Linked DNA regions of Homo sapiens: all the other regions are linked to region 1. Evidence: promoter capture Hi-C in 16 types of primary human blood cells and fetal thymus (Javierre and others, 2016). All regions are on one chromosome and are shown on one strand. Each heading gives the region's core, a stretch centred on a gene start or on the middle of the fragment in contact. The rest is flanking DNA. Distances are from core to core; before and after follow the strand shown.

What was found. Contacts are between HindIII fragments. The CHiCAGO score rates a contact against its expected background, and 5 or more counts as called.
Region 2: a contact is called between the fragment with the promoter of EARS2 here and the fragment with the promoter of RBBP6 in region 1, in 3 of 17 cell types (M0 macrophages, fetal thymus and neutrophils). The highest score is 6.0, in M0 macrophages.
Region 3: a fragment that was not itself captured here is called in contact with the fragment with the promoter of RBBP6 in region 1 in 1 of 17 cell types (neutrophils); the score reaches 5.8 in neutrophils.
Region 4: a fragment that was not itself captured here is called in contact with the fragment with the promoter of RBBP6 in region 1 in 1 of 17 cell types (neutrophils); the score reaches 5.8 in neutrophils.
Region 5: the fragment with the promoter of PALB2 here is called in contact with the fragment with the promoter of RBBP6 in region 1 in 1 of 17 cell types (neutrophils); the score reaches 6.3 in neutrophils.
Region 6: a fragment that was not itself captured here is called in contact with the fragment with the promoter of RBBP6 in region 1 in 1 of 17 cell types (M1 macrophages); the score reaches 5.7 in M1 macrophages.
Region 7: a fragment that was not itself captured here is called in contact with the fragment with the promoter of RBBP6 in region 1 in 4 of 17 cell types (activated CD4 T cells, total CD8 T cells, fetal thymus and 1 more); the score reaches 7.4 in activated CD4 T cells.

What each region holds. Positions count from the first base shown.
Region 1 is chr16:24,537,700-24,541,780 of GRCh38, reverse strand. It overlaps RBBP6 (RB binding protein 6, ubiquitin ligase), which reads right to left and starts at 2,215. Exons shown (of 18, transcript NM_006910.5): 1 at 989-2,215. The coding sequence starts at 1,154. RefSeq lists enhancers at 565-1,557, 1,558-2,552, 3,979-4,081 and silencers at 1,769-1,948, 2,219-2,268. The HindIII fragment of the contact is 3,955 bases long and covers 620-4,081 here.
Region 2 is chr16:23,555,496-23,559,576 of GRCh38, reverse strand. EARS2 (glutamyl-tRNA synthetase 2, mitochondrial) reads left to right here and starts at 2,227. Exons shown (of 9, transcript NM_001083614.2): 1 at 2,227-2,372. The coding sequence starts at 2,234. UBFD1 (ubiquitin family domain containing 1) reads right to left here and starts at 1,850. Exons shown (of 7, transcript NM_019116.3): 1 at 1,810-1,850; 2 at 1,298-1,627; 3 at 1-109. The coding sequence starts at 1,834. RefSeq lists silencers at 1,428-1,607, 1,708-1,797 and enhancers at 965-1,608, 1,868-2,067, 1,609-2,253, 2,258-2,537, 2,898-3,542. The HindIII fragment of the contact is 14,256 bases long and covers 534-4,081 here.
Region 3 is chr16:23,586,742-23,590,822 of GRCh38, reverse strand. It overlaps NDUFAB1 (NADH:ubiquinone oxidoreductase subunit AB1), which reads left to right. Exons shown (of 5, transcript NM_005003.3): 2 at 3,504-3,626. Among named protein-coding and RNA genes, the nearest start is that of NDUFAB1, 7.5 kb to the left of the region's middle. The HindIII fragment of the contact is 6,808 bases long and covers 1-4,081 here.
Region 4 is chr16:23,614,170-23,618,250 of GRCh38, reverse strand. All of the region lies in intron 10 of PALB2 (partner and localizer of BRCA2), which reads left to right. Among named protein-coding and RNA genes, the nearest start is that of NDUFAB1, 20 kb to the right of the region's middle. The HindIII fragment of the contact is 2,773 bases long and covers 1,445-4,081 here.
Region 5 is chr16:23,639,313-23,643,393 of GRCh38, reverse strand. It overlaps PALB2 (partner and localizer of BRCA2), which reads left to right and starts at 2,084. Exons shown (of 13, transcript NM_024675.4): 1 at 2,084-2,284. The coding sequence starts at 2,237. It overlaps DCTN5 (dynactin subunit 5), which reads right to left and starts at 1,928. Exons shown (of 6, transcript NM_032486.4): 1 at 1,804-1,928; 2 at 371-439. The coding sequence starts at 1,851. RefSeq lists an enhancer at 866-1,655 and a silencer at 2,783-3,017. The HindIII fragment of the contact is 17,437 bases long and covers 1-4,081 here.
Region 6 is chr16:23,788,103-23,792,183 of GRCh38, reverse strand. No RefSeq gene overlaps it. Among named protein-coding and RNA genes, the nearest start is that of CHP2, 35 kb to the right of the region's middle. The HindIII fragment of the contact is 1,377 bases long and covers 1,539-2,915 here.
Region 7 is chr16:25,258,798-25,262,878 of GRCh38, reverse strand. It overlaps ZKSCAN2-DT (ZKSCAN2 divergent transcript), which reads right to left. Exons shown (of 1, transcript NR_170220.1): 1 at 1,813-4,081. Among named protein-coding and RNA genes, the nearest start is that of ZKSCAN2, 3.0 kb to the right of the region's middle. The HindIII fragment of the contact is 179 bases long and covers 1,635-1,813 here.

The DNA of each region.
Region 1 (4,081 bases), core at 966-3,465:
TTTAGAACACCGAACTGCTAAAAAATACACATCAGCATTACTGATCTGAGAAAAAGAAACCAAAACAAGTTCAGAGTCAGGAAAGACTGCTTGTCACATTTATCTACTGTTAAGTTCCCAATATTATCAAAATACTTTTGAAAAGGAGAAAGAATCTAACGATTCTTATCAGTGGCTTATTTGTACTCTATGGTAGCAGCCTATTTTTCAGTACCTTAGTATCAACAGTCACGTAAAATCTAGCAACTACTACTTTAAAAAAAATCAGTACTTTTGATCTTCACCGAATTGATAAAGCTTAAGAGTAATGTGATGAACTAACAGTTTAACTACTTAATTGCCGTATTACTAATTCTGGAATTGACACACAAGACAAGAGCGGTGACATCAGAACATTTCAAGATCCAAAAACAATTCCAATACTGATTAAATCCTCAAAAATATTAAAGTTCAGATCCCTTATCCACAACACAGGCAAGCAACTCCAAATAAATAAATGCGAGGAGGGAGGAAGGCAGGACATAAAATTTGCCATCAAACTCCACAATGTTGTTAGGTTAGAAAATTGTTTTTTTGGTTTTTTTTTTGTTTTTTTTTTTGCTGATTGAACAAACAAGCTTTGCACAGGCTCTCCTGCCCTCCTGATGGAAAATAAGTTAGAAAACGCCCTAAGACAAGCACTCAAAGAGTCTAGATAGCTATCCCCCTCTCCTCCCTCCCTCATTTTAAAAAACAGCGAGAAGAATAATCAGGCTTCCACGTTTTGGGTTAGCCTGTTACAGATGACCCAAGTATGCAGAAATAAAATAAACCAGTGAAACTCCAAGGCCAACTGCTGCAAACCTTGGCTATCAATGAAAGTTGTATCCAAAGTACTAGAACGAACAGTCCCCACTAGAGACATAATGGCGGTTAGCTTCCTGCCAGGCACCTTCTAGCTAGTATCTCTCTCCAGCCACCAAATATCTTAAGACCAAGCGGCCCTTACCTTCTTTCGTCTGCGCATTGGTGATCTGCAGGTCGCAGTCGGCAGCTTTCAGCTTCTCTCTCCCCATAATCTGCTTCTTTAAGTCGCAGAGGGAGATGTGGAGCCCATCAAAGGTGACGGTATCATAGTTGAGTTTAGAGGAAAATTTATAATGCACACAGGACATGGTGCCAAGGGATTCCTAAGGTTCAGCGAGGAGACGTGGACACTCTCAATATACGTATATTTATAAACTTTAAGAGCAAAATATGTACACACAAAACACTCAAAGACACCGAAGGACCCTAAGGCCTCAGATTAAATACCCCCCAACCACAAGCAGGGGTTCGTCAGAACAATAATCCAGAGACCCCCCGATACTCAGAATCACTTCATGGGGGAGGAGGAGGACGAGGACGGGGAAGAGGGGAAATCGAGAATCCGCCAACGGGCACAATGTCACCCGGCTGGGTCCCCCTCGCTCATGCTAAGGGGCCGGCAGAGACGGGGGGATTGGCGGTGCAGTCAGTAGCGGTCAGTCCACACGTTAAGAGTCCGAGCGACCCCACGGGGTCAGGGGTCCATAGCGCGGCCGCACCTCCCGGCGGGTCTCTCTCTCCGTGGATTGGGGTGACCCAGGCCCCGGGAGAAGGTTGAGGGGAGAGGGCCTAGGCCCGGAGTCCACGAGCGGCCTCACGCCTCCTCCTGGCTTCCGGACGACCGGCGTCAGCTTCCCCAGGCCCAGGCCCAGGCCCCCACCGCACACAAACCCCTGGCGCCTGCTCCCCGGAGGCCACGAGCGGCCCCACGGCCTAGGCCGAAAACGCGCGGTCGGCGGAGGAGAGGCCTTCCCGCAGGCCGCCCCCGGCTCCGCCTCCCCCCGCCGCCGCCGCCGCCTCGGACACAAAGCCGGCGCTAGGCCTCGGCGAGGCCTCGGAGCACTTCCTCACCACCCCGGGCCCCAGCCGGCGGCCGGGTGGCTTCGGCGGACCCCGGGGACACCGCCGAGGCTCCCTGACGCTTCTTCTCGCCGGATCCTCCGCGCTTCGCTCGCCTTTCGTTTCCGTCGCCTTGAGGCCCGGAACCGCGAGAACACGCCCGCAAGCTGCTGGGCAGCGGCTAGGGCTTCTCCGGCTCCCTTTTTGTGTTGGCCCCCTGCCGCTCGGGGGCTCTCACCGAGCGGCGGCGACACCTCCAAGCCAGGTACTATGGCGGACGCGGCCTGGCTTCGGACGAGCGCCCCACTGCGGGGTCTCTTAAGCAGGGATTGCACGGGCGGCGCGCGCGAGGCGGGGCTGGCGTGCGCGGATAGGCGGGCCGAGAGGCGGGGCGGCTGACGTCACAAAGCGCACGGCCCGCCCACGTGACCCCGCGCTTTGTGACTCCAAAGCGCGGAAACTGAAAGAGCAGGGACAACGGGAAGAACCATCTGCTTCAAAAGGGAGGGGGGTTGCGCGTCAGGAGGACCGGCTCACAGGGAGGCTCGGTGGGGAGAGCTCGCCTTGCAGGGGCTGCGTGCAGTTTCCACTGCAAAGTGGCTTGCCTAGGGGTGGCCGGCTAACTCCCCCTTCCCCACAGGCCCCGTCAGCTCCTCTAAGCCTCCCAATTTAAGTGAGCATTATGGTTGCTACGCAGAAAACTATGGTTGCTATGCAAGCGCTCCCTAGCTGCTGCTTCCAATAAACTGGCTACCCTATACTCTTGACAAGTGGAAATCGTGGAGCAGCCGCTGCCAAGAACTGATAACAGCCACCAGCACCATACAGATTTATTGAGCTCTTACTATGTGCTAGGCACAGGGCTGATCGCATAACAACATTGCCAGGCTCAGCAGCCACGTTGTCTGGGTTGGATCCCTGGCTGTGGGGGCTCTAGATTTAACCCCTCTGTGCCTGGGTCTCCTTGGCTGTAAAATGCCATTAAAAATAGTACTTGGTTTACTTGGATTAAATAAATGCACATAAATCCATAGTCTAAGACCATGCCGGTGCATTGACGTGGCTCAATGCACCGAAATATTAATAGCTGTAGCTCAATAAATGTCAATTTAACAACAAAAACCCTACGTGGTCAACATGACATTATTTCCGATTTATAGATGATGGAACTGAAGCTAGCAATCATGTACTTTCTGAATTTGCAGAAGGGGATGCCTGCTCAGTGGCAGGGTCCCGATTCCATTCCTAAGCGCAAATGCCAGGAACAGTGACAAGAACCCCCTCAGTAGATTGGAATTTTTTTTTTCCTTTGGGCATGGGGACGTTATTACATTCAGAAAAAATCATAATATAATAAAATTACATTCATAAACGATAGTTATTATCGTTTACAATCCATGTTCCTCATCCTCTCTGAATTTTACAGGCTAGGCTCAGTGAATTTAGGCAACTGAGAATAAGATCCTATAGCCGAGAAGTAGCAGAGTTTCCCAGGGACTTCCTGCAAGCACACTCCAAATTCTTACTGAACTTGATTTAAAATTAATCACCATCCTGCCAGAAAAGCCTTCCTAAGGCCATCTTTTTAAAATAAGATGGCGATCTTTCTCTATCCCTTTAGTCTTTTCTTCCTAGCACTTGCAGATAGTTGACAGTTACACATTTACTTTTTAATTATCTATCTCCCCCAACCCCTACCTTCGGCTGACAATAGGAATCTTATCTTTATATTTGTTTTTGCTGTATCCTCAGCTCTTAGAACATAGTAGGTGCTCAATAAATACGTGCTGAATAACTGGATACATTTTTACGTGATCCATAGAGATGTCGTGGCAATAAAATTTTGGCCGTAGTCAAGGGCAGCTCTAGAGATACCATTACAATTTAACTCAACCACACACATCAGTACTTTTCATATATAACAAGTTTCTTCCACTTTTACCTCTTTGTTATTTCACCAAAAACTTATTGCTGCCAGGTCCTCTTCAGGTTGGTTGCTTTTTTCTTAAAAGCCTCTGTGTGAATGAAAGGGCGAGGGCTATCTCTAGTGAAAGAAAAACTCGACGAGAAAATTGCAAGCCGTCATGGAATTCACTCCGAAGCGGTGAATCTGTTCCTTTTGCCCGTCTGTGGCCGACCCCTTTATATACTGAATGCCTAATTTAATCAGCGTGGT
Region 2 (4,081 bases), core at 978-3,477, 980 kb after region 1:
GAGCCAACCACCATGATCTTGGCCCCACTGGTCACTTTTATTTCTCTCAATGTTTTATCCTCGGGGACGAGTCCCTTATACATGACTTTCTGCATGGCAGGCGGGAGACCTTGGGAAAAGGTAGAAGGTGGACAGTGAAAGGAAGGAAGGACAGAAAAATGTATGGATACTACACAGCTCTTTGGTAACAGACCAAAAAGTGAATACTGCCTCCACCACCTATTAGCTTTGTGAACTTGGGAGATTTACAACCTCTGAACCTCAGTTTCTAGAACTGTAGAAGATTTATTAGAGTAAGTCCTTCTGTACAGACCTGTTTCAAGGATTAAGAGACCAATGCGGGGCATTTAGTACGGTGGCTAGCATTGAATAATTGTTCAGTAAGTACTAGCTCTCATTCTTTCCAAGTTGTTCCTCAGTCATCTAAATCATTCACATATTAAGTGAGAATCCACAGGCATCAGAGCTACAGAAGCCAATAGGGACAAAACTCCTGTTCTTAATGGAGATTACAAGGCTACATGTAGAAAGCTTTAAAAAAAAAAAAAAGTTCAAGGCCAGGAGTGATGGCTTATGCCTGTAATCCCAGCACTTCGGGAGGCCGAGGTGGGTGGATAAAATAAAAAAAACTAGCCCGGCGGGGTAGCGGGCACCTGTAATCCCAGCTACTCGGGAGGCTGAGGCAGGAGAATCGCTTGAACCTGGGAGGCGGAGGCTGCAGTGAGCCAAGATGGTGCCAGTACACTCCAGCCTGGGCAACAGAGCAAGACTCCGTCTCAAAAAAAAAAAAAAATAGGAAAAAGAAAAGAAATCTCAGATGGCAAAGAGCTATGAACAAGGTAAAATTAAGAAACAGAATCGACTGTGAAGAACCAGCATCAAAGTCAATAGCAGCGTTTCCTAAACTTCACTTAGAAGAATTACCTAAGATATTTGCTAAAAATAAATTCCTGGCTACATCCCAGACCCACTGAATCAGAATCTCCTGGGAAAGGGCCCAGAAGCTGTAAAACAAGCGCCTTAGGTGATTTTTTAATTAGAGATGTTAGAGCAACATCAATGAGAAACTGGGGCCTAAACGTCAGACTTCGGCTTTAATCCCAGCTCTGCAACTTACTAGCTCTATAAACTTGAGTCTCTTTCCCCAGCTGAGTAATGGGCATCCAAGTATCCTTCAGAAGACTGCTGTAAGGATGGGGGGACCTGATGCAAGGAAAGCCACCAGGTGCCTAGTAGGGTGCAAGGGCCATCAGGAGGCGGGGTGGGGAAGACTGGCTGTCAGCGCCACAGGAATTACCTGTAATCGAGTGGATCTTCTGTTTCAGCTCGGAGCCTGTGCTGTCCAGGGGGAACTTCACGTCATGCTTGGTCTTATTCCAGATGATCTTCAAGTCCACCAGCTCCCTGCCCGCGCCGCCGCCCGCGTCTTCGCCGTTGCTGACCGAGGCCTGGGCTGCGGGGTCCCCAGGGGGCTGGGCCGGGGCCGGCTGCAGGCTGCCTCGTGCGGCGCCGGAGTCCTCGGCCGCCGCCCCCGCCGCGGCTTCAGCCTCCAGGCAGTTGACGGGCCGCGCGGGAGCCTCAGTAGCCACAGTCTCGGCCTCCGTGTCCATGCCAGGTTCCTCCATGCCTGCAAGGGGGTTAGGGGGTGGGCGCTCGCCGCGGGCTGGGCTTGGGAACGGACGCTGTCCGGGCGCCGCCGGACCTCCGTTCCCGAGCCGCGGTTCTCCCTCCCGGGCCGGGCCGCATCCCCCAGAGGAGCGACCGCAACCTCAGCCCCGGCCCGGCGCCCGCCACCCCCGCCGCACTCACCATCCGGGGCCCCGGCCGCCGCCATGATGATTGTGTACAACACCCACCGCTCCCGCAGAGGCCGCTGGGAAGAGGCGAGCTGGCTGAGATTGGCCCCCGCAGCAGCCCCTAATCTCTCACAGCCCGGCCGGAAACAGGTGGAGGTTTCTATGGAGACCCGCCTCCTCCGCTCCCAGGTCCGGCCCCTGCCACGCTTTCGCTTTCCCAAGCTGAAGGGGGCGGGTCCGGGAAATAGCCCTTTCTCTGGCCTCTGCCCCCTGGTGGCGAGTGCGGCCGCAGCCGTCCAGGGGGGCGTGGGATTTCGCGCTAGGGGGCCTGTGACTTTAAGGGGCAAGGCTGCGCTGGCTGTGGCGGAGGCCGATTGGCTGGAAGCAGTCCCCGGAAGTGACGCAGGGAGAAGCCCACGTGTGCTATTCCATCCCACATGGCGGCGCTCCTGAGGAGACTGCTGCAGCGCGAGAGGCCTTCGGCGGCCTCTGGCCGCCCCGTAGGACGGCGCGAGGCCAACCTGGGCACTGATGCCGGGGTTGCGGTGCGAGTGCGGTTCGCTCCCAGCCCCACAGGTAACCCTGGCGGACGTGACGCTACAGGCCGAGGCCCCCTGTCCCGTCTCCGCCCCACGAATGTTCCCGAATGAATCCTTTCCGGTGGTGTCAGAGTGGGCGGGCGGAGGAGGGTTAAGGCAGCGCGAGCCCATTTTACAGAGGCGGAAACTGAGGTGCAGGAGCGGAAATAATTCAAATTGCCAGGAGTTTCTTGTGTTTTTTGTGCCATCCCATCTCTTTCGATCTTTTTTTCATGCATTCCATACATGTGCATTGATGACAACCTGTGTAACAGGTGTTGTAGACGCTGGGATACAGTGATCATTGAGAAAGGTAGGGGCCTTGCTCTGTGGAAGTCTGCATTCTAGTGGCTGCCGCAGACACTTATAAAAAATAAGTGTAATTTTAGAGTCACATGTGCCATGCGGGAAGTGAAACAGGATAGGAGACTGGGGATTAAGAAGGACGCTCCAGAAGGCTTTACTGAGCAGGTAACATTTGAGCTGAGATCCAAATGACAAGAAGGAGCACGCTATGTGAAGCCTATAGAAGGAACCTTCTGGAGGCCAGGCGCGGTGGCTCACGCTTGTAATCCCAGCACTTTGGGAGGCAGAGGTGGGTGCATCACTTGAGGTCAAGTGGATCACTTGAGAGCCGTCTGACCAACATGGTGAAGCCCTGTCTCTACTAAAAATACAAAATTATCTGGGCATGGTGGCGCATGCCTGTAATCCCAGCTACTTGGGAGGCTGAGGCAGGAGAATCGCTTGAACGCAGGAGGTGGAGATTGCGGTGAGCCAAGATCGCGCCATTGCACTCCAGCCTGGGCAACAAGAGCGAAACTGTGTCTCAAAAACAAAAAAGAAGGAACCTTCTGGGTAGAGGAAATCGCAGGTACCAAGGCACTGTGCTAGTGCTGTTGGGAGCTTAGCAAGCTAGAGGGTGACAGAGGCCCATTGTATAGCCTGTTGGAGATCTCGTCAGGGCCTTTTGGTTCCCACCAGTAAGGCTACCTTCTACGTTCTCTACACGGAGTATGCCTCTCATCCCAAATCCCAGGATGAACATACAAAGATCTTTGTAGTAAAATCCCAGCTATACATGACAGGATCTTTCTGGCAGGCAGTATAGCCTAGAGCAGTGCCTTTCAAACCATCTGTTGTGGAAGTGCTGGTTTTAAATTTCCAATCAATTGTGTATCAATATTTGCACAAAATTAATATAATGACCAGAAAAATAAAATTTTGAAAACATCCAAAATACAAACCAATCTCATTTTATTTGGGTTAGCAGAGGTAAAATCATTCTGCCAGATTGCTATGTAAGTTTCGCCTGGCCAATATGGCAAAACCTTGTCTCTACTAAAATACAAAAATTAGCCGGGCATGTGGCCCAGGCCTGTAATCCCAGCTACTCAGGAGGCTGAAAATCGTTTGAACCCAGGAGAAAGAGGTTGCAGTGAGCCGAGATCGTGCCACCGCACTGCAGCCCGGGTGACAGAGTGAGACTCCATCTCAAAACAACAACAAAAGTTTCTAAACCTTTACTCTCAGTTTCTGTACTTGATTGTGAACTGACAACTGTTTTCAGACCAGCACTGGATTGCACACTTTGCTTTGAAGAGCACTTATGTAGAATGCCAAAGCCTGGGATTGCCTGGGTCCAAATTTCTGTCGTGGCCACTTATTAGATGTGTAACTTACTAGATGTGCAAATTATTATTGTTA
Region 3 (4,081 bases), core at 1,005-3,504, 950 kb after region 1:
TCCACTAAAAATACAGAAATTAGCCAGGCATGGTGGTGCACGCCTGTAATCCCAGCTACTTGGGAGGCAGAGGCATAAGAATCACTTGAACCTGGGAGGCAGAAGTTGTGGTGAGCCAAGGTCACAACACTGCACTCCAGCCTGGGCAACACAGTGAGACTCTGTCTGAAAAAAAAAAAAAAAAGAGACCAGAGGCAGGAGCATGAGAGGGTAGTAGGATCAAGTATTTTGGGGCTACGCTACAGCCAAGGTATCAAACTAGCTGCTGCTGGTCATTGTTCTCAGGATCCTACTAAATAACCCTAAATAGCACTTACTGTGTTAAGTGCCAGCCAATGTCCAAGCCTTTACTTCATCTCACTGATGCTTCACAACAGTCCTGTGAGTGTGGTACTGTTGTTTATCCCCATTTTACAGATGAGGAAACTGAGATGTAGAAGGTTAAGTAACCCACCCAAGGCCAAACAACTAGTGAGAGCCAGCACCATGGTGCAGGCATAGGTGGTCTAGTTTCAGCGTCTGAGCTCTTGCCCACTAACTTACTGCCTCACGCTGATCCTGATGCAGCACCCACTCTAGATTGGCATGTGGCCTCCAGTCAGAGACTCGTTTAATTTAATCACATGGTGCCCACCTGGCCCTTGTAGGTACTTGCTGGAGCTGCTGAGGACAATGCTGACAACCTAGTTGGCCTCATGGGTAGTTGTGTACGAACATAGAATATACCCTCACCAGGGGTCTTGCTTTGTTGCCCAGGTTGGTCTGGAACTCCTGGGCTCAAGCGATCCTTCCACTTTGGCCTCCCAAAGTGTTGGGATTACAGGCGTGAGCCACCACACCTGGCATCGTACCATTTCTTTTTTTTTTTTTTTTTTTTTTTCTTTTTGGAGACAGAGTCTCACCCTGCCGCCCAGGCTGGAGTGTAGAGCCATGATCTCAGTTCACTGCAACCTCTGCCTCCTAGGTTCAAGTGATCCTCCCACTTCAGCCTCCTGATTAGCTGGGATTATAGGCACACGCCACGATGCCCGGCTAATTTTTGGACTTTCAGTAGAGATGGAGGTTTCACTGTGTTGGGCAGGCTGGTCTTAAACTCCTGACCTCAAGAGATCCGCCCACCTTGGCCTCCCAAAGTGCTGGGATTACAGGCGTGAGCCACCACACCTGGCCTCGTACCATTTCTTGATAAGCACACAGCCTCTGTTAGATCCCTCCAACTGAAATTTCTTTTCTGCCATTGCCATATTACCTCATTTCTTCTCCCCCTTTCTCTTTATTCCTTTCTTCTCCATTTTATTTGTGACTTGGAAACCTATTTGAGTCATTGTTAAGTAGGCCGGTCATGTGCCTGTATAAAAGGTCTCCTTAACCCATGTATAATACGAAAGGAGACTAGACATTTAGACAAAGAAACATGCTCTAAAACTCTTGAAAGTACTCAGAAAGGCTCGTTAGAATATCTATCATACTCTCCAACTCATCTCTTTAGTTTGCTGATTAAACCTGATTTTTTTTTTTTTTTTCTTGAGACGGAATCTCACTCTGTCACCCATGCTGGAGTGTAAATGGCATGATCTTGGCTCACTGCAACCTCCGACTCCCAAGTTCAAGCGATTCTTCTGCTTCAGCCTCCTGAGTAGATGGGATTACAGGCACATGTTACCACGCCCAGCTAACTTATATTTTTGGTAGAGACGGGGTTTCTCCATGTTGGTCAGGCTAGTGTCGAACTCCTGACCTCGTGATCCGCCTGCTTCGGCTTCCCAAAGTGTGGCAATTACAGGTGTGAGCCACTGCGCCCAGCCTAAACCTGATTTTAATAACTGACTTCTTTTTCTTTTCTTTTTTGAGACAGAGTCTCGCTCTGTGGCCCAAGGTGGAGTGCAGTGGCACAGTCTCGGCTCACTGCAACCTCTGTCTGGGTTCAAGCAATTCTCATGCCTCAGCTACCTGAATAGCTGGGATTACAGGCACACACCACCACGCCCAGCTAATTTTTGTATTTTTAGTAGAGACGAGGCTTCACCATGTTGGCCAGGCTGGTCTCGAACTCCTGGCCTCAAGTGATTGGCTCACCTCGGCCTCCCAAAGTGCTGGGATTACAGGTGTGAGACACACATCGGCCCAATACCTGTTCTTTATGCAAGATGAATGTTTCTTCTACAGAGGTTATACTGGTTTGGTTCTCTGGGCAGTATTTATTATGATTTTTCATGGACCTTTGTGAGTTTCAGGGACCTGAGCCCTAACAAGCAGCCCCACTTTCTATAGGGAAATGCCTGAAGAACGCCAAGCCTCGGACTTAAAATCAACTTCAGGAGGTAAACAAACCAATTTAGATTAGGGATTTCTTTCTTTTTCTTTTTTTTGAGACGGAGTCTTGCTTTGTCGCCCAGGCTGGAATGCAATGGCGCAGGCTCGGCTCACTGCAACCTCTCCTCCCACATTCAAGCGATTCTCCTTCCTCAGTCTCCTGAGTAGCTGGGATTACAGGCGCCCACCACCACGCCTGGCTAATTTTTGTATTTTTAGTAGAGACGGGGTTTCACCATGTTGGCCAGGCTGGTCTCGAACTCCTGACCTCAGGTGATCTGCTCACCGTGGCCTCCCAAAGTGTTGTGATTATAGGCGTGAGCCACCACGACTAGCCAGATTAGGGATTTCAGTAGTGAGCAAAACTGCCAGATACCCTGTTTTGTTTTCTCTGATTCTGCGTCGTACCTTCCACAGCATTAAACCCCCTGACCTGTAATTGCAGCTCATTCCACATTTGTTGAATGAAATCTGGTCAATACCCTAATACCTAAACATTGAGCCGACTAATACCAGAGATACGTGAGGTATTGCTCTAACATGGCACAGGCCAGAAGGGCTCATGGTTTGGCTGGTGGCCATGAGGCAAGCCTCGCTGGAAGGGAAACAGATTGGAATGTAGTGACTGTAAGCTCCCTCATCCCCTCTTTGGGTGGGAGGCCAGCTTCCTTTGTCCTGGCTGAGATCAGGGAGATAACTGCTGGAACCAAACTAGACCTTTCTGGTGTATGGTCCTCAATTTGAATTGCCTTTGGGTTTACCATGACAGCTCTTTCCTTTTGGGTTATTTTGACTTGGGTCAGCCTATTAAAGGTGGCAGCACCCTGTAGAGGCCTCGGGATGCTGAAGATGCCATGAGAAGACACAGGCATTCTGCAGACGCTAGACAATTTTAGTGGCAGTTAGTGTCGCAGAGCAGTATGAATGTCCAGAGCCTGAGGGTTGAAGCCAGGAGGCAGAGGGGCCGGTCCTGACTCCCAGGAAGGAGGCCTGAGATGCTGCTGAACTGTTGGGGCTTCTGCGATTACCCAGTCCTGCAACTTAGTGTGTCCTGGTGGCCACAATGAGAATCAGATGCTGTGGGTTCTCTAAAGCCCCGAAAGTTCTGTGAAAGTTACCTATAGGCTTGTGCATTGATTTAGAGGTATTTTCCATTCAATGACAGTGTTTCCTTCCTGCCGTCGCTCTAGGTTCCTGGTAGAGTTACACAGTTGTGCCGCCAGTATAGCGACATGCCTCCTTTGACGTTAGAGGGCATCCAGGACCGTGTTCTTTACGTATTGAAACTCTATGACAAGATTGACCCAGAGAAGGTAACTGATGGTGGTTTGAATTTTTTTCTTTAAATATAGAGTATTTAATTACATGCTAGAAAATGCAAAGGGAAAGATACTCAGTAAAAATCTCCCTGGCTCCCAGACACCCAGGCCCATTCTGGGAGATAGCCAGCGCTACCAGTTTCATGTATGTTTCCAAAGGTACTCAATGCATATGTTAAAGAAGTATACACACGTGTGTATATTATATGTATGTATCTCTCACCCTTTTTAAAAAACACAACTGGCCGGGCACTGTGGCTCATGCCTGTAATCCCAGCACTTTGGGAGGCCGAGGCGGGCGGATCACCTGAGGTCGGGAATTCAAGACCAGCCTGACTAACATGTAGAAACTTCATCTCTACTAAAAATACAAAATTAGCCGGGCATGGTGGCACATACCTGTAATCCCAGCTACTCGGGAGGCTGAGGCAGCAGAATCACTTGAACCC
Region 4 (4,081 bases), core at 1,582-4,081, 920 kb after region 1:
GGTAGCTCACTGCAACCTCAAACTTCTGGGCTCAAGGAATCCTCCCACCTCAGCCTCCTGAGTAGCTGGGACTGCAGGCACACAGCATCATGCCCTGCTAATTTTTAAATTTTTTGTAGAGATGAGAACTTGGTATGTTACTCAGGCTGGTCTTGAACTCCTTGGCACAAGCAATCCTCCCACTTCAGCCTCCCAAAGTGCCGAGACCACAGATGTACACCACCATGCCTGGCTAATTTTTCTTTTTCTTTTTCTTTGTAGAGGCAGGGTCTTGCTATTTTTTCCAGGCTGGTCTTGAACTTTTGGACTTAAGCAACCCTCCCACCTCGGCCTTCTAGAGTGCTGGGAAGTTGGGGAGGGATTTCTATACTTGGCTTCTAAGTTCCCCTTAGGGGATATTTTCACCCCCACAGTTACCTTGAGTTCTGTTGTACTATTCCAGCCTTCATTGATGTTTCCTTCTCCGAATTCATACTGCCTTGGTTGTTTTTTTGTTTTTGCTTTTTTGAGAGAGGGTCTCAGTCTGTTGCCCATGCTGGAGTACAGTGGCATGACTATGGCTCACTGAAGTCTCAACCTCTCAGGCTCAAGCAGTCCTCCCACCTCAGCCTCCTGAGTAGCAGGACTACAGATGCATGCCACCAGCCTTGACTAATTAAAAAAAAAAAAATTTTTTTTTTTTTAATTTTTTTTTGTAGAGACAGGGTCTTCCCATGTTGCCTAGACTGGTCGTGAACTCCTCAATGCAAGTGATCCTCCCGCCTCAGCCTCCCAAAGTGCTGGGATTGTAGACATAAGCTGCCGCACCTGGCCTGCCTTGATTTTTAATTTAGTATTTGCTGCTTTGTGTTATTTATCCTCTCTCGTTTTTGAAGACAGGTACCATGTCTCATATCTATTCTTGGTGCCTGCCTTAGCTCCATGTTTAGGGTAGTTACTCAAAGGTGTATTAATCATATTGTCTGTCAAAAGCTGTTACTTATCTTTTGGGCTCTGTATAATTTTATACTTACATGTAGTATTTGTTCTTATTTAACTCCTGATTTGTTAGATGTCTCAAGTGATTCATGTTATACTCAAGTGTCAAGTGGCTTTTTTTGGAAACTATGCTGAAGGTCTAAATATTTCTTAAGCTTGGCCGGGCACGGTGGCTCACGCCTGTAATCCCAGCACTTTGGGAGGCCGAGGTGGGCAGATCACGATGAGGTCAGGAGATGGAGTCCATCCTGGCTAACACGGTAAAACCCCGTCTCTACTAAAAATACAAAAAATTCGCCAGGCGTGGTGGTGGGTGCCTGTAGTCCCAGCTACTCGGGAGGCTGAGGCAGGAGAATGGCATGAACCCGGGAGGTGGAGCTTGCAGTGAGCGGAGATCACGCCACTGCACTCCAGCCTGGGCGACAATGAGACTCCGTCTCAAAAAAAAAAAAAAATTTCTTAAGCTTAATGTTTACAATGAAGTCATATCAAAGAAACACGTTAAAACATTCTTAAACACTGAGGGGCCAGTGTGTAAGGAAGTCTTGCTGTCCATATTCACTGAGACATTTCATTTAATATCTTCCAAACATTCAGTAGGTATCTGGGTCTCTACTTATGTCCCATTCTCTGTGAGAGATGCAGAGATGAATCAGATATGAATCCTGGTCCCAGGGCCCCTATAATCTAGTAGGTAAATAAGATGCCTTTACCATCAAAGCCTACAATTTCAGTACAATCCTTTTTACAATTCACATAAGGTCAAAGTGATTTGGGATTTGAGGAAAGAACAATTACTAAATACAGACCATGTATGAAACTCTGTAGGACACCCATCTGGTGTCCCTGATAGGAGGAAAACTTTGCATATGCACATAAAAATTTAATTTTCCTTCTTCAGTTTTTTATACACAGTATCTGGCCCATAGAATTCTGTATTTGTTGAGTGAATACATGATACAGTATTGCCAGTAGTATATTGCATACCAAATGAGGTATATGGACAAAATTAAAGGAGAGGAGATGACTGTGGACTGCTGTAGTCTCAAGTGAGTTCATGCAGCTTGGAGGGGGTGGGATATAACTAGGCCCTAAGAAATGGATGGGAATTCGTCAGTAACAGGGATGGGAACTCTTCTGTAATGGGTGGCAGGGAGTTGGGGGAGCAGGGGTCATTGGAAAGCATAGCTTGAGCAAAGTCTAGAGTCAAGGAAATGCATATGTTCTTCAGGCAGAAAGATTTCAGGAAATGGAGCAATGAGTGATAATGTAAATATTGCACTGCTGGATTCATGAGAGTTATAAATACCACCGGGCGCGGTGGCTCACGCCTGTAATTCCAGCACTTTGGGAGGCCAAGGCGGGTAGATCACCTGAGGTCAGGAGTTTGAGACCAGCCTGGCCGACATGGTGTACCCCGTGTCTACTAAAAATACAAAAATTAGCTGGGTGTGGTGGCGCCTGCCTGTAATCCCTGCTACTCAGGAGGCTGAGGCAGGAGAATTGCTTGAACCTGGGAGGCAGAGGTTGCAGTGAGCCGAGGCTGTGCCATTGCACTCCAGCCTAGGCAACAAGAACAAAACTCCATCTCAAAAAAAAAAAGAACTTGGACTTTATGTTGTGGCTAATGGGAGCCAACTGAAAGTTTTTCATCAACAGAGTAACATGAACCAGGTGCAGTCTCTCACACCTGTAATCCCAGCACTTTGGGAGGCTGAGGTGGGAGGATTGCTTGAGCCCAGGAGTTCAAGACCAGCCTGGGCAATATAGTGAAACCCTGTCTCTACAAAAAATTAAAAAATTATTCAGGCATGGTGGCATGCAGCTGTAGTCCCAACTACTTGGGGCAGTGAGGTGGGAGGATCGCTTGAGCCTCAGAGGTCAAGGCTACGGTGAGTCATGATCACGCCACCACACTCCAGCTTGGGCAATGGAGCGAGACCCTAAGCTCCAAAAACAAAAAAATAGAGTATCATGACAAAGCAGTTATCAATGTCACAAATCCTCAATAAAGCTGGGGAGCAGGTCAGGTGCAGTGGCTCGTGCCTGTAATCCCAGCACTTTGGGAGGCCGAGGCAGGTGGATCACCTACGGTCAGGAGTTCAAGACCAGCCTGGCCAACCTGGTGAAACCCTGCCTCTACTAAAAATACAGAAATTAGCCAGGCATGGTGGTGGGTGCCTGTAATCCCAGCTACTTGGAAGGCTGAGGTGGAAGAATTGCTGGAACCTGGGAGGTGCAGATTGCAGTGAGCCAAGATGGCACCACTGCACTCAGCCTGGGTGACAGAGCGAGACTCCATCTCAAAAAAAAAAAAAAAAAAGGCCAGGCGCGGTGGCTCACGCCTGTAATCCCAGCACTTTGGGAGGCCGAGGCGGGCGGATCACGAGGTCAGGAGATCAAGACCATCCCGGCTAAAACGGTGAAACCCCGTCTCTACTAAAAATACAAAAAATTAGCCGGGCGTAGTGGCGGGCGCCTGTAGTCCCAGCTACTCGGGAGGCTGAGGCAGGAGAATGGCGTGAACCCGGGAGGCGGAGCTTGCAGTGAGCCGAGATCCCGCCACTGCACTCCAGCCTGGGCCACAGAGCGAGACTCCGTCTCAAAAAAAAAAAAAAAAAAAAAAAGCTGGGAAGTGATTCCAACAAACTTTATCTTTTTTCTTCTTTATATTCACCCCTCTCTTCCTACCCCACTTCAATCCTTCCTTCTATCCATTATTTTGGTCTAGTTGTAGTATAAATACATGTAATAGAGATATAATTGTAACTCTCTTTTAGGTGTAGTCTCTTGCCCTACAAAATTTGGTTTCCTGGCCGTTGTCTTCCATGGAAAATTTAGACATAACAAGAAGTGTCACAAAATCATGATACTGCTATACCATGTGCCTGATTTCAATACCAGGTTGAATGAGATGATGGAACCTTCCTCATGGAATTTGGAGAGATTTATCCCTAGGGGCATTGTAGATTTAATCTAAGGCTGAACTATCAAATGAAACTATTGGCAAAATTAACCCACAGTTCTACTTTTACCTAAATCTATGACTAAAGAAAACTAAGGAGCTCTTAGTTTTTTCCCTGGTCACCTCCTAAGACATGCT
Region 5 (4,081 bases), core at 835-3,334, 900 kb after region 1:
TGATGAAACCCTGTCTCTACTAAAAATACAAAATATTAGCCGGGCTTGGTGGCAGCTGCCTGTAATCCCAGCTACTCGGGAGGCTGAGGCAGGAGAACTGGTTGAACCTGGGAGACGGAGGTTGCAGCGACCTGAGATGGGGCCACTGCACTCCAGCCTGGGCGACAGAGTGAGACTGTCTCAAAAAAAACCGAAACAAAAAAAAAACAAAAAGGAGATCCAATTTACAAAATAAAAAATTTAAAAACAAGAGAATTAAAAATGTAAACAATAAATAGGAGATATGGCAACATTTTATCTGCCCTGCTGTGGTGACAATTAGCAGAACGCAAGCTAAGGTTTGCAGCCTGGAGCTGGCTTTGTCCCTTACCTTGCCATTGAGAACGATGTTCTGGCTTCCACACAACACTGACTGGCGACTGACTTTGTTCCCAGATGCCTAAAAGAAAACAACGGAAAACCGGGGAAAGCAAACTTAATAGGTTTCTGGACTACAGGTTTCCATCAAGAAAGCTCCCATTTGAGAGAAAAAAACATAAAGTGGGGTGCTGTCCACAATGGAGTGAGTCCAGGATATCAAAAAAGCAATGATGGATTAGGAAACTATGGCTGAGTATGGTGGCTCATGCCTGTAATCTCAGCACTTTGAGAGGCTGAGGCAGACGGATCCCTTGAGGACAGGAGCTCAAGACCAGCCTAGGCAACATAGTGAGACCCCTTCTCAACAAAAAAAAAATTTTTTAATTAGCCGGGCATGGTGGCGCGTGTCTGTAGTCCCAGCTCCTCAGAAGGCTGAGGCTAGAGGATCGCTTGAGCCTGGAAGGCCGAGGCTGCAATGAGCTGTGATTGTGCCACTGCACTCCAGCCTGGGCAACAGAGTGAGAACCTGTCTCAAAAAATAAAAACACAAAGGAAACTAGGGACTCAAGGAATAAACTCATAATTTGAATGTCTATAGCTTGGTGGCATCAGACAGACGCGGATTCAAATCCCACTTCCACGCGTGGGCTTTACGGCCTTAAAACGAGGATAATGACTATGAGTATCAGAGTTGTGAGAAAGCAAAGAAAACCAAAATAACGATAGTAACGTTAATTGACCACTTGCCCTGTTTCCAAGATTTTACAAACATATCATGTACTGATCATAAAGAACCAAATCGGCAGGGTGCGGTGGCTCACGCCTGTAATGCCAGCACTTTGGGAGGCCGAGGCGGGTCGATCACCTGAGGTCAAGAGTTAGGGACCTGCCTGGCCAACACGGTGAAACCCCGTCTCTACCAAAAAATACAAAAATTAGCCGGGCGTGGTGGCGGGCGCCTGTAATCCCAGCTACTCGAGACGCTGAGGCAGGAGAATCGCTTGAACCCGGGAGGCGGAGGTTGCAGTGAGCAGAGATCGCGCCGCGGCCCTCAGGACTGGGCGACAGAGTCTCCGCCCCCCAACCCCCTTCCTCAAAAAAAAAGAACCGAATCGTTTTTAGCGCAAGTTAACAGATACAAAAGGCAGTGTAAAAGGGCCCGAAGTCCGAGCTGTAATTCGTATGAACAGGATGGGACTTGTCCTATCCTCCCGAAGGCACTTTACCCCTATGAGAAAATCAGGAATAAATACAAAAGGCCTCAACTGGCCAAGCGCGGAGTAAACAGCAAAGCCAGACGGTACACGGGGCATCGCTAGATAATCCGGGACTAATGGCCAAAGGGACAGGGGTTGGTGGGGTAGGGGCAGGTTGGGAACGCCGACCAGGCCTCAAAGGGACGCAGGGTTGGAAAGAGGAGGATACATATCTGGACCCGCGCACCGTCTCGATGTACTCAGACTTGTTGTAGAGCAGCTCGCCCAACTCCATGGCCGCCGCCTCCTTCCCTCAGCCCCGGATCCTGTCAGAGTCAGTCGGTCAGTCTTTCAGAGATTCCGGCTACTTCCGGCCGCTCCTCCACTTCCGCTCCAGGTGGCCCACTGGGACTCATCGACAGCGCGGCTCTCCTTTAGGCGGCCTCGCTCCACTGCTCGGCCGTCTACGGCTGCGCGTGCGCAGGCCGAATGGTGGATTTAATTGGCCGGAGTTTAGGGCGCGCTTGGCCCGCGTGGGTCAGCTGATCGCGCACTGAGGGTGCGATCCCGGGCTCCCCATTCCTTCCTGGGGCGCCTCCCCGGCCCAGGGCCAACTGGGTCCCGGTGTCGGCAGGCCTGGGGTCGGCGACGGCTGCTCTTTTCGTTCTGTCGCCTGCCCGATGGACGAGCCTCCCGGGAAGCCCCTCAGCTGTGAGGAGAAGGAAAAGGTGCCGGGGGTGCGGGAAGGGCGGACGCAGGACTCTGACCCCGCTTTCCCAGGGTTTTAGGCCTGGCTTTGTGTCCTCGGCAGTCCGAGGGCAGCAGTATCATCTGACCACCCCCTCCTCTTAGGGCTGAGGGGGCACAGAAAATGAAAATGTGGAAATAGCGTGGTGCTCACGTGGTGGCGTTTAAAGAACAAATTTCATTACAGTAGCAGCGCATTAATACAATGTGTAACAGTTTGTAGATAAAGCTGTATCGACACCCTTGCTCCTCCCCCCTCCCACACCCTCAATCTTTACTTCTCCCCCCGGACGGCCTCAAGTAAATCTTTTAAGTCTGGTACTTCCAGGTCCTTTCGTGTGTTAATGTGGGTGGTGGAGGAGGGGCGTATCCCTAACCACCAAAAAGGAATCCTATGTATATTTTTTGGAGAAGGGAATGTTCATAAATGGTATGATCTGAATGGTTCTGCAGGTTCCGTTTAGCTTTCCTGTCAGGACATGTTTATCTACCTTGCTTTCTTTTTTAAGTTCTAGACAGTATGTTGTAGTTTGGAAGTGCCCTCGTTTTGTTTCTTTTTTCTTCCTTTTCTGTTTTTCTTCTTTTTTGAGACAGAGTCTCACTCTGCCACCCATGCTGGGGTGCAGTGGCGCGATCTCGGCTCACTGCAACCTCCGCTTCCTGGGATCAAGCGACTCTCCTGCCTCAGCCTCCCGAGTAGCTGGGATTACACGAACCCGCCACTGCACCTGGCCTTGGAAGTGCCCTTGCTTCTTTAGACTGTACTTTACTGATAGACTTTTAGGATGTTTCCAGCTTGTGCTGATGTTATTCTTATCCTGGCTTACCTTCTGGTGGAGGTGAGAAAGATCATTTATAAGTAAACAAGATAATCCCCAGACATTGATAAGATTGGTGGGAGGCCAGTCTCCCTGGCTCACGCCTGTAATCCCCGCACTTTGGGAGGCCGAGATGGGCAGATCGCTTGAGCTCAGAGTTTGAGACCAGCCTAGGCAACGTAGTGAAACCCCGTCTCTACTAAAAATACAAAAATTAGCCGGGTGTGGTGACGCCAGCCTGTAGTCCCAGAGGCTCAGGCCTCAGAGGCTGATGCACGAGAATCGCTTGAACCAGGGGACGCTGAGGTTGCAGGGAGCTGCCGAGATCGCGCCACTGCACGCCAGGCTGGACGACAGAGTGAGACTGTCTCTCAAAAAAAAAGAAAATTCCTTACGGTTGGCAACTTGTCTAGTAGCATGTTTTGCACATAGGTTTTGTTTTGTTTGTTTTTGAGACAGACTCTCCGCTCTATCTCCCAGGCTGGAGTGCAGTGGCTCGATCTTGGCTCACTGCAACCTCCGCCTCTCAGGTTCAAGCGATTCTCCTGCCTCAGCCTCCCGAGTAGTTGGGATTACAGACGCCCAACACCACGCCGGGCTAATTTTTGTATTTTTAGTAGAGACAGGGTTTCTCCATGTTGGCCAGGCTGGTTTTGAACTCCTGACCTCAGGTAATCTGCCCGCCTTGGCCTTCCAAAGTGCTGGGATTACAGGTGTGAGCCACTGCACCCGGCCTTTTTTTTTTTTTTTTTTTTCAAGCAGAGTCTCGCTCTGTTGCCCAGGCTGGAGTGCAGTGGCGTGATCTAGGCCCACTGCAACCTCCGCCTCCGGGTTCAAGCAATTCTCCTGCTTCAGCCTCCTACAGGCACCCACCACCACACCCGGCTCATTTTTGTATCTTTAGTAGAAGCAGGATTTCACCATGTTGGCCAGGCGGGTCTCGAACTCTTGACCTCAAAT
Region 6 (4,081 bases), core at 978-3,477, 750 kb after region 1:
TCTTCTTGTGCCCTCTGAGGTACAAAATGCCAGTGAGACTGTTCTGTTTGTCAGCAAGAGAGACAGAAGCTGCTGAGGGCTATGGAAAAGATTCCTTGGTGGGAAGGCCCTGAACGTAGCTGGCAAGTGAGACCGACACTGGTAGCCCTGGGGGACCACAAGTGGGTCTTGACAATAATAGACACTGACTCTGCACTGGGCCTTGCTTACCCAATGGAAGATGCAACTATTCACGATGCCATTAAAAAACAGGATCAAAAATAGTACATGGATTTGGGCAGCTAACTGTCATTTCTTCAGACCAAGGGGCACACTGTACAGGCTGAAATGTCCAGCAATGGGCAAAGAGACATTCTCCTAGAGAAGTGGAGCTGGCTATTAAAATTTATTAGGGCTGGACATGGCGGCTCACACCTATAATCCCAGCAATTTGGGAGGCCAAGGCAGGAGAATCACTTGAACCCAGGAGTTCGATAAAAGCCTGGAAAACATAGTGAGACCTCGTCTCTATAAAAATAAGAAAAAAAATTAGCCAGGTGTGGTGGCATGTGCCTGTAGTCCCAGCTGCTTGGCAGGCTGAGGCAAGAGGATTGCTTGAGCCCAAGAGGTGGAGTCTATAGTGAGCCATGATCACGCCACTACATTCCAGCCTGGGCAACAGAGCAAGACTCTGTCTCCAAAAATAAAATTTAAAAATAAAAAATAAAACTTATTGGTTGTCTAAAATGGGTTAGGCTGGGCATGCTGGCCTATACCTGTAATCCCAGCACTTTGGGAGGCCGAGGATCACTTGAGGACAGGAGTTTAAGACCAGCCTGGGAAATACACAAAGACCCTCATCTGTACAAAAAGAAAAAAAAAATAGTCAAGTATGGTAGCACACATCACAGTCCTAGCTACTCAGGAGGCTGAGGCAGGAGGATCACTTGAGTCCAGGAATTCGAGGCTACAGTGAGCTACAGGCATGCCCCCACCACACCTGGCTAATTTTTGTATTTTCTTTGCAGAGACAAGGTTTCACCATGTTGCCCAGGCTGGTCTCAAACTCCTGGGCTCAAGCAATCTGGCTACCTCAGCCTCCCAAAGTACTGGGATTACAGGCATAAGCCACCACACTTAGCTTTGAAGAGAGAAAGGGCAGGTTGGGTTTTGTGTCACACAAGGTCTTATTATACAATAGTCATGCATATTCAGCAGGTTTGGGAGAACGCTATACATATTTATGAGAGGAGCCAAATGCATGAGCAATGGGTAAACATTGGCAGCAGAAATAGGGCCCCACATTTGCTTCATGGGCAATCATTAAGCACCTACTGTGTCTCGGGTAGATTCTGGTTATTCAGGCAAAGTGCAGGAAGGGGAATCTGCAGTGGCATGAGGCACTGCACCCAGCCTATATGCTTTTTAACATTCTTAATCACACACACACGGGACGTAGCATACATCCCATGTTCACTTCGGGGCAGGTTTTAGCATTAAAATGAGGTGGAATTTGACTCGTTACGTCAAAAGGTGACCTACAGGACACAAAGAAAGCTTGTGTGCAGCCTCTATAAGCCGCTGAAACTGGCTTAAGGTCTGCAGTTCCATATAAGAAAACAATGTTTATAAGGCTGGTCCCTGTCCAGAGTTGTAGCGGTCTGGGCCGTAAATTCACCTGATATAGCTCCTATGGTTAGGGAGTTTAGCAAGGCTGTGATTTTACTTTTTTCTTTTTCTTTTTCTTTTTTGAGACAGGGTCTCGCTCTGTCACCCAGGCTGGAGAGCAGTGGTGCAATCATGGCTCACTGCAGCCTCCACCTCCCAGGCTTAAGCAATCCTCTCACAGCCTCCTGAGTAGCTGGGCATACAGGTATGCCCACATCCAACTAATTTTTGCATTTTTTGTAGAAATGAGATTTTGCCATGTTGCCGAGGCTGGTCTCAAACTCCTGGACTCAAGCAATCTGCCCTCCTAGGTATGCCAAAGTGCTGGGATTACAGGCATGAGCCACAGCGCCCAGCTGGTTTTTCTTATAGCTATAGGAATTTAGAAATTTGCCATGCCTGCCAGGACCTGAACCCTTGACCTTAGGTAGGTAACTTTTGTTTCCTTAACCTTGGGCTTGTCTTAGTTGATAAAGGGGTGTCTGTTTCAGTCTCTGAGCACATTACACATAGGTCTCTCAGATCACACTACACTAGGTACTTTACATTATTAACTAATCTTTTTTTATTTTTTATTTTTTTCTTGAGACAGGGTCTGGCTGTGTCACCCAGGCTGGAGTGCAGTGGTGTGATCCCTGTTCCCTGCAACCTCCGCCTCCTGGGCTCAAGCCATCCTCCCACCTCAGCCTCCCAAGTAGCTGGGACTATAGGCATGTGCCACCATGCCTGGCTAATTTTTTGTATTTTTTTGCAGAGATGGGGTTTCACCATGTTGTCCAGGCTGGTCTTAAACTCCTGAGCTCAAGTGATCCACCTGCCTTGGCCTCCCAAACTGCTAGGATTACAGGGGTGAGCCACTGTGCCCAGCCCTACTCACCTTCTTAAACCCTGTGAGGTTAATACCACCATGATCCTGTTTTACAAACAATGAAACTGAGGTTAAGTAATTTACCCAAGGTGATATAACTAGTAAGTGGTGGAGGTAGAATTTGAACCAAGACATTCTGATTCTAAAGTCCTTGATTTTAGCCACTGTGCTGCAGTAAAGTCTGGGCCACTCATAGGGCCTCTCCTTAAAGATGCACTCCAGTTCCTAGCCATTCTCAGGCTTCTCCCTCTATTCAGTCCCTCCTTCTTCAGGCCTTCTCAGTATACATCTCCATCCCTCCTCTCTGGAAAACTTTCAGAGCAAGAAACAGAGCCTGCAACTGATCTGACCTTACACACTGAAGAAATGTTATTATCTCACATAATAAAATGGGGAAGCTTCATGGTTGATTGATTTGACAGCTCAATTACATTAGTAAAGGCCCACTTCTTTGTGGATTTCCACTGTTATCCTTGACCTAAATCAGCCCCCGTCATGGGCACAAGATGGCTGCCCAAGCTCCAGCCAGCATGTTCTCAAATAACCAGAGACAGTAAAGGGGCTGTTTCTTCCCTCTTTCATAAAGGGGCTGTTTCTTCCCTCTTTCAATCAATCTCCTTTCAATCATTAAGGAAGACCTTTGCCAGAAACTCCAATACACTCCCCACTCGTGTCTCATTGACCAGAATTATTTCATGTGCCCATGCTGAGCCTATCACTAAGCAAGGGAAATAGGAAAACATGGTTGGTTTAGACCAATTACTATTAACTTCTTGAGGTCAGAGACCGCTTCCTGTAAAGAACATGACCACGTGGAGGACAGTAGACAGCAAAAAATAAATGGAGGTTTTATTGGGAAAGAGGAAGAGGAAACCAAGTTTTTGCCACATTCTAACCACAGAAGTGGACCTCACAGTGGGATTCATCCTTCTTCCTCCCCAAATACAAGCTCCAGAGGACCAGCATTAATTATCAGAAATAGTACTGTCTGTCTCAGCAGTTCTCAAACAATAATGTGCATAAGAATCACCCTAGAAGTTTGGTGAAAGGGCAGATCTCTGAGAATGATGGAACTTGAGCCTAAATCCATCTATTTTAACACCTGGGCTTTTAACCATTGTCTTATTGAGCTCTTACCCTGTGTCAAGCACTGCTCTAGGAGCACTCCCTTAATGCCTACAGCAGAATTAGGCCTAAGAAGTTCCCCTTCATAGGTCCCCTGTGACCCACCTTATCCTCCAGAATGTTCCTTCCAGCCAAAAAAAAAAAAAAGTTGTGCCCACCCCAATTTTCCAGCCCCTTGGACAGAGTTCTGATCTTTGAAATTTTCATCAAAGTGAGACAGGAATAATACAGGGTGGTCACAGGAGAACAGAAAATTCCAGGCAGCACTTTCACATGGCTAGGCAAAAGGCAGATGTTGAAATAGCTGCAGAAGCTAGGGTCTGATAAAACCCTGAAAAACCAGGGTGTGGACCATGCTGGCTAAGACCAATTGAACTTAATTGGCACTGGATTTGACCTAGGTTTCACCTAGAACCTTATGTTTTTGTTTGTTTGTTTGTT
Region 7 (4,081 bases), core at 475-2,974, 720 kb before region 1:
AAAACTGGTGGATAAAATAATGACCATAAAACTGCTTCAAAAACTGTGAAACCATGCGCACAAGGGAGGAATCGCTCAGAGGCTACATACCACAGATGAGGTTGAGTGCTTACTATGCGTAAGGCACTTTATAAGCTCCCAGTACACAGTGGTTAAAAACATAAAATGTCCTGCTTCACTGAGTTAACATTATAGTGAGGCAAACTCATGTAACTGCCAATTATTTAGAAGTGTGATAACTTCACCTAAAAATACTGCCAGCTTCTTTTTAGAAATCAGAAGATCTAGGCCGGGCGCAGGGGCTCACGCCTGTAATTCCAGCACTTCGGGAGGTCAAGGCAGGCTGATCACTTGAGCTCAGGAGTTTCAGACCAGCCTGGGCAACATAGTGAGACCCTGTCTCTGAAAAAAATATATAAAAATTAGCCGGGTAGTGGCATGTGTCTGCAGTCCCAGCTGCAGTGGGCTATGATTGCACCACTGCACTCTAGCCTGTTTTTTGAGAAGGAGTCTCGCTCTGTTGCCCAGGCTAGAGTGCAGTAGCGCGATCTCGGCTCACTGCAAGCTCCACCTCCCGGGTTCACGCTATTCTCCTGCCTCAGCCTCCAGAGTAGCTGGGACTACAGGCGCCCACCACCACGCCCAGCTAATTTTTTGTATTTTTAGTAGAGACAGGGTTTCGCCATGTTAGCCAGGATGGTCTCGATCTCCTGACCTTGTGATCTGCCCACCTCGGCCTCCCTAAGTGCTGCAATTACAGGCGTGAGCCACCGCGCCAAGCCCTCAAAATAATATCATCAGAAGATCCAGCAGGGCTTGGTCTGTAATCCTGCATGGCAACAAGAGACTGGAACTAGTGGCTGCTTCCTTTAGACAGGAAATGTGGCCTTCAGCTCACCACACTCCCCACCATCCCCTATTGTCTTACACTCTGCCCTACTTCACTCTATGCTATCTGCCTGAGCTCTGCAGGCTTTCAAGTTTGTGATTCCTGCTCCCTCATGTCCCCAAGCTGTTTGTGATACTTGCCTCTCCTAAAACCACCAAATAGCCCAAGGAGAATATAAAGAACCCTACTCTTATTTGAATCTGAATCCTGGGTTGCCATTTAATCTGATGTAACCTTGGGCAGTGACATCACCTTGCTCAAGTCTCAATGCCCTAAACTCTAAAATGAAGGTAATCATATCTGGTTTATAGGATTTTTGTGAGGACTAGGCTTTGCCTAATTAGCTCTTCTCCTTTGGATCTCACCCCTAGCACTGCTTCTTCAAAAAAACCTTTCCAGACCTCCCAAATAGATCAAATCCCTCTGACAGACATAGGTTCTCAGCACCATGTCTCTTCTTGGTGGCACCCATCTCCCTTAGAATTGTACTTGAGTTTGTGGATTACTTATTTAATTCCTGCCTCTCCCACCAGACTGAAAACTCAATAATGGGAGGGGAATCCTGCTTTTGCTCCCTACCTACCACCATATCTGGCATTAAATAGGTCCTCAATAAGTATTATTTAAAAAGAAAAATGAGCTGTGTAAGGATGCTGATACAACCCCTGGCATATACGAGGTACCCCACTGATTCTCTCTGCCCCACCCTCAGGTAATGCCTGTTATGTACATGGTACCCTAAGCTTCTGGGGCTAAAATTGGCTCAATTTTTAACATTTGGGAAACAAGTGATTAGGTTGTGTTTTCTAATAAGCTATCTACCTCCCAGAATAAGGATTTTTGTTTTGCCCACTGACATACATGTAGCCGAACTGGTGTCCAGGCCACTCGTCGCCTGAAAGCCAAAAACTCAAAAGACAAGCTTTGGTGAAAGCAAAGTTAGCTTTATTCGAGAAACCAGCAACCTGCAAAAGGCAGTGCACTAGCATTCAAAGACCACCTTTCTCAGTTGTGCCTCTAGATCCAGGGATTTTAAGGAAAATTAGGAGAAATAATGATCAAAACATTCTTGTGGGCCAGGAGCGGTGGCTCATACTTGTAACCCCAGCAATTTGGGAGGCCGAGGCAGGTGGATCACTTGAGGTCAGGAGTTCGAGACCATCCTGGCCAACATAGTCAAACATCATCTCTACTAAAAATACAAAAATTAGCCAGGTGCGGTGGCACACGCCTGTAGTCCCAGCTACTCAGGAGGCAGAGGCTACAGCGAACCAACATCACTGCACTCCAGCCTGGGAGACAGACCAAGACTGTCTCAAAAAACAAAACAAAGAAACATTCTTGTGAATCATGCGCAGTCTCAGATGGGCAGTTAGTCATTACTTTCTTGGTCAATGCCTTGTGACTAGACTGTGCAGGGGCCATCAGCCTGTTCCCAAAGCTGCGGGTCTGTGTGTTTTATCTGTTGAAGAAGGTCCTGTTTTTTTCTGTGGCTGTTTTTAGTGAATAGTTTACAAACTCAGGCAAAACAATAATTATACTCAAGCAAGCAAGCTTTTCTCTAACATAGAGTCAGTACTGCTGTTACCCGTTGCAGGGCCTAGGGGACTTAGCTGGACGCCTACCTGGCTTTTGTTACCCAATGCAATGCCTCCATGACATAGCTAAATTCCTACTCAGATTTAACTCTGCTTATTTTTAGAAAACAGGTTGTCTGTGGTCATAGGTTCCTTCTTAGCTTACTCGACCTCTGAAGAACCTCTAGCTTCATTCTAATCCAACTTCAGTACTAAATGACATTCCCACTGGTTGCCATGACAGTTGACAATCACCGTGATGACCCGAAGAGACCAAAAAAAGGACAAAAAAAGGGGCAGCTCCTTGATTCCAGGAAAATCTACCTCCCTTCCCAAGAAAAAACATGAATATTCCTCCTCTTGTTCTTAATTTTTATTTTTTTTAGAGACAGGGTCTTACCATGTTGCCCAAGCTGGTCTCCAATTCCTGGGCTCAAGCTTTCCTTCTGCCTCCTCGCCTTGCTCTTAATGCCCAGCCCCTTCATTAAGGACACCTGACGACTAAGCTCTGATTCTTTTGTTTTTTTTTTCTGTTTTGTTTTGTTTTTGACACAGAGTCTCACTTTGTCAACCAAGCTGGAGTGCAGTGGCACAATCTCAGCTCATTGCAACCTCCGCCTCCCGGGTTCAAGTTGAGTCTCATGCCTCAGCCTCCCAATCAGCTAGAATCACAGGCGTGTGCCACCATGCCCAGCTAATTTTTGTATTTTTAGTAGAGACGGGGTTTCGCCATGTTGGCCAGGCTGGTCTTAAACTTCTGACCTCAAGCGATCCACCTGCCTTGGCCTCCCAAAATGCTGGGATTATAGGCGTGAGCCACCACGACCAGCCTAAACTCTTGATTTTTTTAATCCTGCCCAAATTCCTATCTAAGGGATCTGGGGAGTCATGACCTACAAACCATAAATTCTCATCAGATGGGTTTTATTTAATCCTATATATGATGACTTACTTTCCATTCTGACTCTGGCATAACATTACGTGACAAAAAGAAAGTCAAAATATTTTACCCCAAAACATGTTTCCTTGCCCTATTTTGCAATTTCTTCCATAAAGGACAGCATTTTCCCCCAAAAGCTATCCTTTGTGGGGTAAAATGTGCATCTGTAAAGAACATCTATTAACATAGCTAGATGTTTTTCTTCCAGGCCCTCCCAATCCTAAACGGATTAACTAAAAGTCTAACACCTTTTGAAGATCTGAATAGGAAACATTTGTCATCTATTATCTCTAAGAGCAGCCACCATAAGACTTCAAAAGAACCTTAGTCTCCACTATCTTTTATCTTAACCTGAACACTTCCTTTCTATCAATCCCAGGTCTTCAGACAAACTCAACCAATTGTCAACTAGAAAATATTTAAATTTACCTATAGCCTGGAAGCCCCCACCCCCACCCCTTTGCGTTGTCCCGCCTTCCTGGACCAAACCAATGTATTTAATGTATTTGACTGATGTCTCATGCCAACCTAAAACATAAAACCAAGCTGCACCCCGACCACCTTGGGCACATGTTCTCAGGGCCTCGAGAGGGCTGTATCACAGGCTGTGGTTACTCGTATTTGGCTCACAATAAATCTCTTCAAATATTTTGCACGGTTTTACTTTTCGTCAAC